Linked DNA regions of Homo sapiens: region 2 is linked to region 1. Evidence: promoter capture Hi-C in 16 types of primary human blood cells and fetal thymus (Javierre and others, 2016). All regions are on one chromosome and are shown on one strand. The core of a region is centred on a gene start or on the middle of the fragment in contact, and the rest is flanking DNA. Distances in the headings are between cores, read along the strand shown.

What was found. Contacts are between HindIII fragments. The CHiCAGO score rates a contact against its expected background, and 5 or more counts as called.
Region 2: a fragment that was not itself captured here is called in contact with the fragment with the promoter of GLP1R in region 1 in 1 of 17 cell types (activated CD4 T cells); the score reaches 5.7 in activated CD4 T cells.

Annotation. Positions count from the first base shown.
Region 1 is chr6:39,044,583-39,050,519 of GRCh38, forward strand. GLP1R (glucagon like peptide 1 receptor) reads left to right here and starts at 4,199. Exons shown (of 13, transcript NM_002062.5): 1 at 4,199-4,336. The coding sequence starts at 4,259. RefSeq lists an enhancer at 4,883-5,383. The HindIII fragment of the contact is 5,231 bases long and covers 3,528-5,937 here.
Region 2 is chr6:39,282,122-39,287,571 of GRCh38, forward strand. No RefSeq gene overlaps it. Among named protein-coding and RNA genes, the nearest start is that of KCNK17, 30 kb to the right of the region's middle. The HindIII fragment of the contact is 2,589 bases long and covers 632-3,220 here.

The DNA of each region.
Region 1 (5,937 bases), core at 2,949-5,448:
CCCGGGAGGCGGACGTTGCAAGGAGCTGAAATTGCGCCACTGCACTCCAGACTGGGTGACAGACCGAGACTCTGTCTCAAAAAAAAAATTAAAAAAAAGAAGAGACACCTGTCTTTTCTAGCAATTCCCTTTCCTTCCCTCTCCTCCTCTCCACTCTACAACCTCCCTCTCTTTTCCTGCCTCTCTCTCCCTCCTGCCTCCTCTCAAGTGAAAGATCTGTCCTGGGCCGGGCGCGGTGGCTCACGCCTGTAATCCCAGCACTTTGGGAGGCTGAGGCGGGAGGATCACAAGGTCAGGAGTTCGAGACCAGCCAGGCCAACATGGCAAAATCCCATCTCTACTAAAAATACAAAAATTAGCTGGGCGTGGTGGCAGGTGCCTGTAATCCCAGCTACTGGGGAGGCTGAGGCAGGAGAATCACTTGAACCCAGGAGGCGAGGTTGCAGTGTCGCCACTGCACTCCAGCCCTGGTGACAATATGAGACTCTGTCTCAAAAAAAAAAAAAAAAAATCTGTCCTGTCCACTGACCTGGTCTTCCTGCTAGGGACAAGGTTTTCCTGTTGAAGACAAAAGAGGGCCGGGTGGCCTGCTCTCAGGTCTGCCTCCTTGGCGAATGGGCCTTACAGCACCTTTTCCTCAGGAGCACACATCAGTTGCTCCCATTCCTATTTCTGAAGACAATCTCAATACCACATTTTCTTAGTGGAAGCTGAGGGCACCCCACGCTAGGGTCACTGGAGAAGCCTTGGGCCTAAGGGTAAGGAGCAGGACCCGGAGCTCTGGGCTGTAGAGCGAGGTGCTCCCGGACAGGCTGGCTGAGCTGCAGCCTGCATCCTCTGTGCTGCCACAAATTCAGCTGCCTATTGGGGGTGTCGGCACCAGCTCTCAGGGCAGGTGGACCTGGGATGAATGCCCTGTTTGCTTTTATGGGCAACTCACTTTTCATACCTGAGCCTCGGTCTCCTCATCCATAAAATTGGCACAATAACACTTGTGCATAATACTGGATGAGATCAGGGTACACCAAGCATTCAGCAGCTCCTGGCCCAATAAGTAGTAGCTATTGTCTTTGTTTTCAAGGGTTTTTGCTTGTTTGTTTGTTTGAGATGGAGTCTTGCTCTGTCACCCAGGCTGGAGAGCAGTGGCATGATCTCTGCTCCCTGCAACCTCCGTCTCCTGGGTTCAAGCGATTCTCCTGTCTCAGCCTCCCGAGTAGCTGGGATTACAGGTGTTAACAGTTTACCAAACAGTATGCCATCCATTCAAATCTCTGCTCTTAGGGAGCTCATCCTTTCCTCTGCTCTAAGGAGCCTGAGTGAGAGGCCCTGGTAACAGCAAGGGGAAAGAAGGAAACTGTATTCCCGAGTCCATACTCTGTCCTAGCATCACAGCAAACTCAGAGGTTTTTGGACCCCCAGATGTTAAGAGGAGGGACAGGCCCTGAGCTTCCTAAATACCCTCATATGCCCACTGTCTTCAGCTGGGCTCTCCCAGAAGCAGATCCTGAGATAAGGATTTAAGGACAAATTATTTATTTATTTTTCATTTATTTTATTTTTTGAGACGGAGTTTCACTCTTGTTGCCCAGGCTGGAGTGCAATGGCATGATCTTGGCTCACTGCAACCTCCACCTCCCAGGTTCAAGCGATTCTCCTGCCTCAGCCTCCCGAGTAGCTGGGATTACAGGCATGGACCACCACGCCCGGCTAATTTTGTATTTTTAGTAGAGATGGGGTTTCTCCATGTTGGTCAGGCTGGTCTCGAACTCCCAACTTCAGGTGATCCGCCCACCTTGGCCTCCCAAAGTGCTGAGATTACAGACGGTGAGCCACCATGCCCAGCCAAATTGTTTATGTGAGGTGTGACCCCGGAAGCACTGGTACCCTACTGTGGGAAAGTGGGACAAGTGAGGAAATGAAGCCAACACAGGGTGCATTACTGAGCAGGTAACTGCTGTGGGAAGCTGGGCTCCATCGCACAGGGGACCTCTGGGAGACTGTGGTACACACCTCTGGATGGGGTATTTATCCATCCACTCCTGTCCATCCATGGTTGACAGCTGCTCTTAGGGGTACCTACCCTGCACTGGCTGAATGCAAAAATGTTCTCCAAGTCAGAGAAAGCCCCCTGGCAGAGAAAACATGGCCTTATAAGTACTGGGGGCATTTGCTTACCATAATAGTGCTTACACAATTATAAATGACTCCAATAATTATTTAATGTTTCCCTCCTGTATTAGAATATAATCTCTCTGAAGATAGGGACAGCATCACCAATTGTATCCCCAGGACCTAGAATGGTGTCTGGCACATGGTAGGTTTTCGATAGATACTTGCTGAATCAATGTAATCTGGAGGCTGACAAATTCATGATAAAGACCCCAGTTCTGTCTGAATAGCTTCTCTATCTCTTCCTTTCTCCTCTCTCCACCCTAAACTTGATATAGCAGTGCCTAAAACTCACTTCCAGTATCTTTTTTAAAATTTGCCTTCTTCTAGAGTATAAAAGCCCAGTATTTAACCTTGCCCATGGTTGCCTGGAATAGAGGGTGCTTTTCCCACCCTCCTTTGCAGCTAGCAGTGCCTATGTGACTAAGTTCTGAGCAAGAGGTGTGGAATTGATGGCTGCCACTTTCAAGATGTGTCTTTATGGGTGGAGGTGCACCCATCTCCTTCCCATTCCTCCTTCCTGCTGGTTGGAATTTGGATATCGTGGCTGGAGCAGCCACCTTGGATCATGAGGTGGAAATCTTGGACCAAAGGATGGTGGAAGCTAGAAGACCCAGGCACCCTGATGATCAGGGAGCAGCCACTCCAACCTTGGGCTGAACCTCTGGCCTTGCTTTACATGAGAGAGCCCTTGGTTATGCCATTGTTGTTTGGGGTGGGATTTTCTGTCACTCCCAGGTGAACAACCTAATCCTAAGTGATACCTAGAAGGTCCCTGCTAGACTGACCTCTTGGGAGGGGAGGGAATAAACGAGTCTCAGGTGGTGGAACCAGAGCTTGCTGGAGAGGAGAGTCTCTCCTGGTGAATGGAAGCCAGGGGCCCCTCCCACTGGCTGTCTCCTTCCCTGGGCTCAGGCAGGTCCAGCCTTCCTCAGGACTTTGAGAAGTTCAGTTCTCTCCCCAGGAGTAGCTACTTTCACAAACTTCCTGTCCCTTTAGTCGACATGCCCCACGGCAGGTCCGAGGCTGGGCTCTGCCACAACTCATCTTTCCTAAGAGTGGCATCAAGGTTCTTTGGTGGGGGATCCTCTTTTCCCATCCCCACTTCTCAAGAGCATTAGGGAAGATACAGTCAGTGCCCTCTTAGCATTCTCTTTCCACTTGTTGGGTGTAAGAAGGGAACCTGAGGGCCCTGCAGTGTTTAGGGGTGGGAGTGGAAACAGACAGGAAAGATCCAGAGTCCCCAAGAAGCGAAGCAGGGAGAGAGATAAAGAAGGCAGGAACAACCATGGACACACATTATCACACATACACAGGTTACAAGAGCAGGAGGCTGGAGCTGCAAGAGGTGGCAGGGAAGCTTCCAGAAAGGCAGACCCCAGCCTCATCCCTCCCTGCCCTGCAATGCTGAAGTTTCCAGGTAGAGGGGAACCTCTAGACCCTTGCGACTGTCAGAGTTCTGTGGATCCATTTGTCAGTCTCCCCACCCCCAACCTTGACTATCCTGGGCCTGCCTTCAGGACAGAACATGGGAATGAGAAGAGGACCTGGGAAGGGGTAATCCTGGGAAAAAAAAGTTCTTATTAGTCACCCCTGGCTCTGAGGATACTTTCCAGGAGTGGCCTGCCAAGCCGTGTGACCTTGGACAAGTCCCGTCCATTCCTCAGGCCTCAGTTTCCTTTGAGGGACCCTGAATGGGCGGGGGTTGCTGTAGCTTTCCTCAGCTGGGAGACCCGGGAGGAGGTCCGGGGTGCCAGGGTGGGAGGAGGGCCTGGCTTGTCGCTGAAAGCCGGCCAGGCGCACTGTCGGCGCTCAGAGCTGGTGGCCGCCTCCTGCGCTTCCTGATTCCCAGCCGCGCTCGCTCGGAGAGCAGTGCCCGCTATCTCCTGGCCCGGGACCGGCAGAGGGGTGCGGCGGGGCGGGCCCAGGGGTCTCTGGCGGCCGGAAGAACCGGGACCCTGCCAGGCCCCTCCCGCGGGCAGGGCGGCCCCTCGCCGGCTCCTCCCCCACCGCCCGCCACCAGCCCGGGATCAGTCTCCGCACGCGGTTCCGCAGGTGGCAGCGATGGCCCAGTCCTGAACTCCCCGCCATGGCCGGCGCCCCCGGCCCGCTGCGCCTTGCGCTGCTGCTGCTCGGGATGGTGGGCAGGGCCGGCCCCCGCCCCCAGGTGAGATCCAGGGACCCCGACGACACCGGGGGAGGCGGGTGGCTCTGCGGGCTGCAGGCGCAGTGTCCTGGTGGAGGGCCCCGGGACTTGAACGAAACTCCGAGACCGCTGGCGGGGGCATCCGAAAGCCTCGGGGGGAGTAGGGACTGGAGACTTGGTGCCCCTGGGCTGGAAGGCCCAGGTGAGGGCTTGGACTACAGAGGATTCCCCCCAACCCCAGCGAGGCGCCCTCTTCCTCGCCACCCGGGTCCCTCTGCCCGGGCACCCGCTGCCCCGCGGCCGCCCTGCGCTGACTTCTGCTCCGCTTCTCCTTTGTCCCCAGCACTTTCCCAACTCCTTCTAAACCGTGTCAGCGGCCCTGGCACAGCCCGGCATCCTCCCGGACTCCCTCTGCCCCACAGTCTGACCCAGACCCCTCTCCCGCAGTGCCTCCCCAGACAATCCACCTGCTCAAAGACCCTGAGAAGACCCTGGGAGGAGCTGAGAGGGCCAGGGTGCGGAGACCCGGCTCCTCTCCCTTTCTCATCAGCCCCCAGCACAGCCTTTGATTCATGGCTCCTGGGGCCCTGCGGTGGCAGCTTGTCCTTCCCAGTGACCTCCCAGATGGAACCTACCCCCCGTCCCCTACCAGCCTCTGTAGCAAACAGGCAGAAGGCTCAGTGCCCCCCTGGAAGCAGCCAGGCGCCCCCACTCACCCACTCTGCTGACCTCCCATTCTCATCCTGCACTGACAGCAGGCCCCAAGAGAAGGCATACTGGGACACGCAAGAACACCTGGGCTCCTTGGTGCCACCAGAGAGCAGGCCACAGGTGGACCACCGCAGCCCCTCTCTCTTGCCCTTGTTGCTTTTCCTGCCCTGGGATCCTGGGCTAGGGACAGTGGTCAGCTGCTTTTGAAGAGGGGAGCTGTCCAAAGATGCTGGGACTTGCTTGAGCAGAGAGGAGACATAGACTTGGGTGGCCTGTCCTGGGTCAGGAAACAGGTTCTTCCTATCACCTCCCACTGCTACCCCCAGACCTAAAGAACTGAGATCTGTGGGGAGTGGACCTGAACGAACCTTGAAGTTTGTCCCAGAACCATTGCCTTGGTGAGGGCAGACTCCACCTCGGCGGAAACCCCAGATGTGGACAGACATACCTCTCAGCTAAGATGCCAGCACATTTTTCAGCCCCCAGATTATTTTCCAGACGCATCCTCTCCCTGCCCCTGTTCCCCAGCCCAGCTGCTGTCCTGAGCCCCAGGAGACAACCTCCCCCTTCCAAGACACCTTCCTCACAGCGCCCCCAGCCAGGCCTTGGTTTTCCTGGTGCGGCTGGGATCTTTCAGGGGCCAGGGCTGCAGACCCAAGATGTGGTTCTTGCCCATCGTTCCCTCCTCTTACGGACTGGGTTGGGATAGGGGTGGAGGCTCTGCTTCCTGGTTCCATCCTCCTCCAGGCCAGGTTTACAGGTCTGGTTTGAATGAAGGGAAGAAAGCAAAGGGAAGAGGAAAGTTTCTGTGAGCTGTCTTCCCAGAGGCCTTATTCCCAGAAGTGTCAGGCTCCTGAACCCACACTTTCCTCTGATCCGATTTTACTCCTTAGCCCCAGGCCTAAGGCAAA
Region 2 (5,450 bases), core at 676-3,175, 240 kb after region 1:
CATACTGTTTAATGTGAAAATAATATTTTCCTCACATTCTTTGAGCCAAATTGCTGCTCTAGGAAGGTGGGGCACATTCATCCTGTGGCTTTCCTGCCCTGGGCACAATGGTGCTAGTGCTGGGTGCCCAGAGCAGGTGGCCCAGGGGCCCAGGTAACTTCAGATTTGGTCCCAATGCAGACGCATCTCCCCACTCAGGTGTGCAAGAAGCGTCTCTATCCTTCCTGGCCTCACCTTTCCTGGTGATTCCTGTGGAAGGCAGATTGGGTCACCTGTTCACCCAGGGGGTGCTCTCTGGCTGCAGGATGCCCTGCAGCTCCTCCTCCCCACTGCCCTCCAGCCTGCTAGGCCTCTACTCCCGCATCATTGGCTGAGAAGTCCCTTTGTCAGAGGCTACTGAGCTCTGCTCCTGGGGAGAGAACAGACGGGAATCCTGCTCACGGATGAAGGCCCTAGTGAAGCTGTGGACAGTTGGGAGTGCATGTCTCATCCCATTCCAGGAGGTCTTGTCCTGCCATGGCCCGCCTTTGCAGGCATGCAGTGGGCTGTGCTGGCTCCTGGCAGTGGCTGTGGCCTCCTGGCCAGAATCTGGGCAAACCCTGAGAAGGAGGTGCTGTGAGCACCTGGGGGAAGCTTCCCTTTCCCTCCTCCATACCCAATACATCAACAAGACCCAATATTTCTGCTTCTCAAATGCTTCTTGAATCCATTTCACTTTATTCAAGGTAGGCTTTATACAAATCTTATCACATTATTTTGCTTAAAACCCTTCCTTCCATGACTTCACACCAGACTCCTCATATAAAGTTTAACTGGTTTGCCAATCTCACCCTCCTCGTCTCTCAGCTCTGTCTCAATGCTGACTTCTTCTTTTTTTCCTTTAGCAGCTTTGCACATGCTGTTCCCTCCCTGCATGGAGCACTAAGCATCTACCCTGACGTCCCTCTGTCCCTCATTGCCCTACCTGTCTCTTCCACATCTGGCCACTTTCTCCTTCCTCCTCCCTTCCCAGCTTCCCAATTCCTCAGGCCAGGGTGGCTCTCAGAGCACTTTTCCACCTGGTTGGTGTTACTTGCTAGATGTTAACTGAGGTCCTTATTTCCTCAGGAGGACCATGACAAAGCAGAAAGCAGAAAAGTCACTGGACTTTGTGTCCTGAATCCTAAGCCCTTAGGGGAACTGAAAGGTTTAAGTCATTAAAAAAAAAAAGGGGAGACATTAGAAAAAAAAAAAGTAAACTGGACCATTCCCCACTCTTGTGGTAGCTTGTATTTTTCAAACGTGGCCATGGCCATAGTTTCTTTTCCACATGCTCTTCCAGAACCTTTCCAATCAAGAGTTGGATATTTCCTCATCCCATTGAAACTGAGTGGGATCTTGAGACGACTAGGTGGACAGAATGTGGCGCAAGCCTAATCTTCCCAGGGTAGGTCATTGCAGCAGTTCAGCTTCTCTCTCTCTTTCTGTCCATACTCACCCTTGAAAACCAGCCGCCGTGTTGTCAGGAAGCCAAGGCCACATGGGGAGGCCACCTGTACATATTCTAAGTTTTCAGCCAACAGCCAGGCATGTGAGTGAATCTTCAGATGATCTTGCTGCAGCCTTCCAGCTTCCCCAGCGGATGCCCAGCAGAACAGAAGTGTCCCCGCTGAGCCCTGCCTGAATTGTGAATTTTTTTGTTACATATCCACAGTAACTGAATCCCACCCTGCTCCCCATCCCTTCCTTGACTTGATAAATACTTTTCCTGGACTAGAAGAAAGGAGGTGATGGCAGAAAAGGAGTAGGCAGCATTGACAACAGATATATTCTCCTTCTACCTCATTTGAGGCAGCACTTGAAATAAAGATGGCATTATTAGAAAATAAAGAACATTATATTATGGCCAGGTGCAGTGGCTCATGCCTACAATCCCAGCACTTTGGGAGGCCGAGGTGGGCAGATCACCTGAGGACTGGAATTCAAGACCAGCCTGGCCAATATGGCGAAATCCTGTCTTTACTGAAAATACAAAAATTAGCTGGGTGTGGTGACCAGCACCTGTAATCCCAGCTACTCAGGTGGCTAAGGCAGGAGAATCACTTAAATCCGGGAGGCGGAGGGTGCAGTGAGCAGAGATCGCGCCATTGCCCTCCAGCCTGGGCGACAGAGTGAGACTCTGTCTCAAAAAAAAAAAAAAAAAAGAATAAAGAACATTATATTTTTCCTTTCACACACAGAACTGGGATTGCCTGTTGATGTGTTTGTGTCCGTGGCCCCATATCTGTATCCTCAATAGGCCCTGCCTGTCATTGTCTTGGTCCCTGTGACAACTCAGCTTAGAATAAGGCCTGTTATAGAGGAGATGCTTGATAAATATATGGCGATTAATGAATGAATCAATGATCAACGATTGAAGAGTGAATGAGTGAAACCCGAAGCCCTGTCATCATGAACTTTTTATAAAGATCTTGGTCATTGATTCAAAGAATACTCTCCTAAGTCAGACCGAGAGACTCTTTTTATAAATAAGGACACTGAAGTCCAGGGAGGGCAGGGATTGGCCCAAGGCCTCATGTCCAGCCAGTGGCAGAGCTGATCTAGAACTTGTCCAGGTGCCCAGCTCATGCTCTGCCCATCCATTCCTCACTGGCCCTGACTGCTGGGCCAGTCGGGCCCTGGAAAGGCTGGACTGGGTGGCAGTTGTTATCGCGTCTTTTTGTTGTTTTTGTTTTTGTTTTTGAGAGAGTCTTGCTCTGTCGCCCAGGCTGGAGTGCAATGGTGCGATCTCAGCTCACTGCAACCTCCATCTCCTGGGTTCAAGTGATTCTCCTGCCTCAGTCTTCCAAGTAGCTAGGATTACAGGTGCCTGCCACCATGCCTGGCTAAGTTTTGTATTTTTAGAAGAAATGGGGTTTTGCCATACTGGCCAGGTTGGTCTTGAACTCCTGGCCTCAAGTGATCCACCCACCTTGGCCCCCACAAAGTGCTGGGATTACATGTGTGAGCCACTGTGCATGGCCAGTTGTTGTGTCTTTGCTGTCATTATCTGCCCAGGAGTCTACTGGCTGGGCTGGTCCTGGCCTCTCAGGGGCAAAGGGACAGAGGCAGACAGGGAGCCCTTGTAGGTTGGGGATGGGACCAGGAGGAGGTGTTGTGAAAGAGGACCTGGCATGCAGGTCATCCATAAATATTGGTTGAGTTGAATTGAAATAAACACCCAAATAGATATATAATGACAAGCTTGCATGGTAAGTGCCATGAGATTTCAGGGAGATGTGAGGACCTACGAAGCGGGTTATGGCCTCTTTCTGGGAAGCCCTGTAAGGAGATGGCCTGGAGCTGAGCTCTACTGGAGAGGAGAGTGGGTGTGTGGGATGGGGTGAGTGGAGGCTCTGCCCATGTTCTAGGCAGTGTCTGAGGAACCAGGAGAGCTGATACCTACTGCAGAGAGGGGAGAGCAGAGTATGGTGGTGACAGAGAAGCCAAGGCAGGCAAGGTAGGTGGAGAAGCCAAGGCAGGCAAGGTGGCCTGGAGGCCATGTTTGGGGTTTTGCACATTGTCCTGGGAGCAATGGGAAATTATTGAGGCATTTTTGGCAGAGGCAGGACAGATCAGTTCTGTCTTTTTAGAAGGCTTCTGTGACAGCTGCGTGGAGAATGGATGGGAGGGGGCTCTTGTGAGATGGAGAAAATGGTAGTGTGAAACTGCGTGGTGGCAGTGAAGCTGGGGAGAAGCGGCCAGAACTTAGAGGTCAAACAATAGGATTTTGCACTGAATTGGCAGTGAGGGGTTGGGAGAAAGAGGTCAAGCATTCATTCATTTACCAGTCACAAAACAGCTCCTGGGTGCCCACCACACGCCAGAGACAGTCAGGAGCTAGCAAAGTCCCATCCTCCTGAAGTTTATCTTCTAGTGGGTTTTGTTTTTTTAAAAATGGGCTTATTGAGATATAATATACATACCACACAGTTTACCCATTTAAATTGTACAAGTCAATGGTTCTTAGTATAATTCATAGATATGCGCCAACTTCAACACAGTCTATTTTAGAACACTTTCTTTTTTCTTGAGACAGGTTCTCCCTCTGTTTCCCAGGCCAGAGGGTAGTGGTAAGATCACGGCTCACTGCAGCCTCAACCTCCTGGGCTCAAGAGATCCTCCTGCCTTAGCCTTCTGAGTACCTAGAAACACAGGTGTGTGCCACCATGCTCCATTAATATTTTTCTATTTTTGTAGAGATGGGGCCTCAACATGTTGCCCATGCTGGTCTTGAAATCCTGGACTCAAGCTCTACTCCTCCATCAGCCTCCCAAAGTGCTGGGATTACAGGCATGAGCAACTACTCCTGGCCACTTTCTTCACCTCAAGAAGAAACCCTGGACCAGGCGTGGTGGCTCACGCCTGTAATCCCAGCACTTTGGGAGGCTGAGGCGGGCGGATCACCTGAGGTCAGGAGTTTGAGACCAGCCTGACCAACATAGAGAAACCCCGTCTCTACTAAAAATACAAAAATACCAGGTGTGGTGGCGCATGCCTGTAATCCCAGCTACTCGGGAGGCTAAGGCAGGAGAATTGCTTGAACCCGGGAGGCGGAGGTTGCGGTGAGTTGAGATCATGCCATTGCACTACAGCCTGAGCTCGAAACTCCATCTCAAAAAAAAAAAAAAAAAAAAAAGAAGAAGAAGAAACCCTGTATCCTTTAGTTATCACTTCCTTTTTTTTTTTTTTTTTTTTAAGACAGGGTCTCACTCTGTCACCCAGGCTGGAGTGCAATGGTGCAATCTCAGCTCACTGCAACCTCTGCCTCCAGATTTCAAGGGTTCAAGCGATTCTCGTGCCTCAGCCTCCCTAGTAGTTGGGATTACAGGCAGGTGCCCGCCACTACACCCGGCTAATTTTTGTAGTTTTAGTAGAAATGGGGTTTCACCATGTTGGCCAGGCTGGTCTTGAACTCCTGACCTTAGGTGATCCACCCACCTTGGCCTCCCAAAGTCCTGGGATTACAGGCATGAGCCACCGTGCCCGGCCTTGTTATCACTTCCTATTCCACCCCTCTTTCCCCACCGCCAGCCCTAAGCAACTACTAATCTACTTTTACCCTCTATAGATTTCCCTGTCTGGGCCTGTTTTGGAGGTAAGATCATGTTTATGACCTGGGGCATTGTGGTAGAAACTCCTGATTTCTCCCACTATTCAATCTTTTACCTTTTCATAACATAATCTCACTATTTAGATGGGCACTTTGTCACCTGCTAAGAGATTACATTTCCCAGTTTCCATTGAAGGGAGATGTGACTGTGCTACCAAGTTCTAACCAATGAAATGTAAGAAACTGTTCCACTGGCTGTTTAATAAAGAAATCTCCTTAAAATGGTGTGGAGTGTGGCGTGTGTTCTTCTCCCCTTTTTCCTTCTTCCTTTCTGACTGAATGCAGACCAGATGGCTGGAGCTCAAGCAGCCATCTTGAA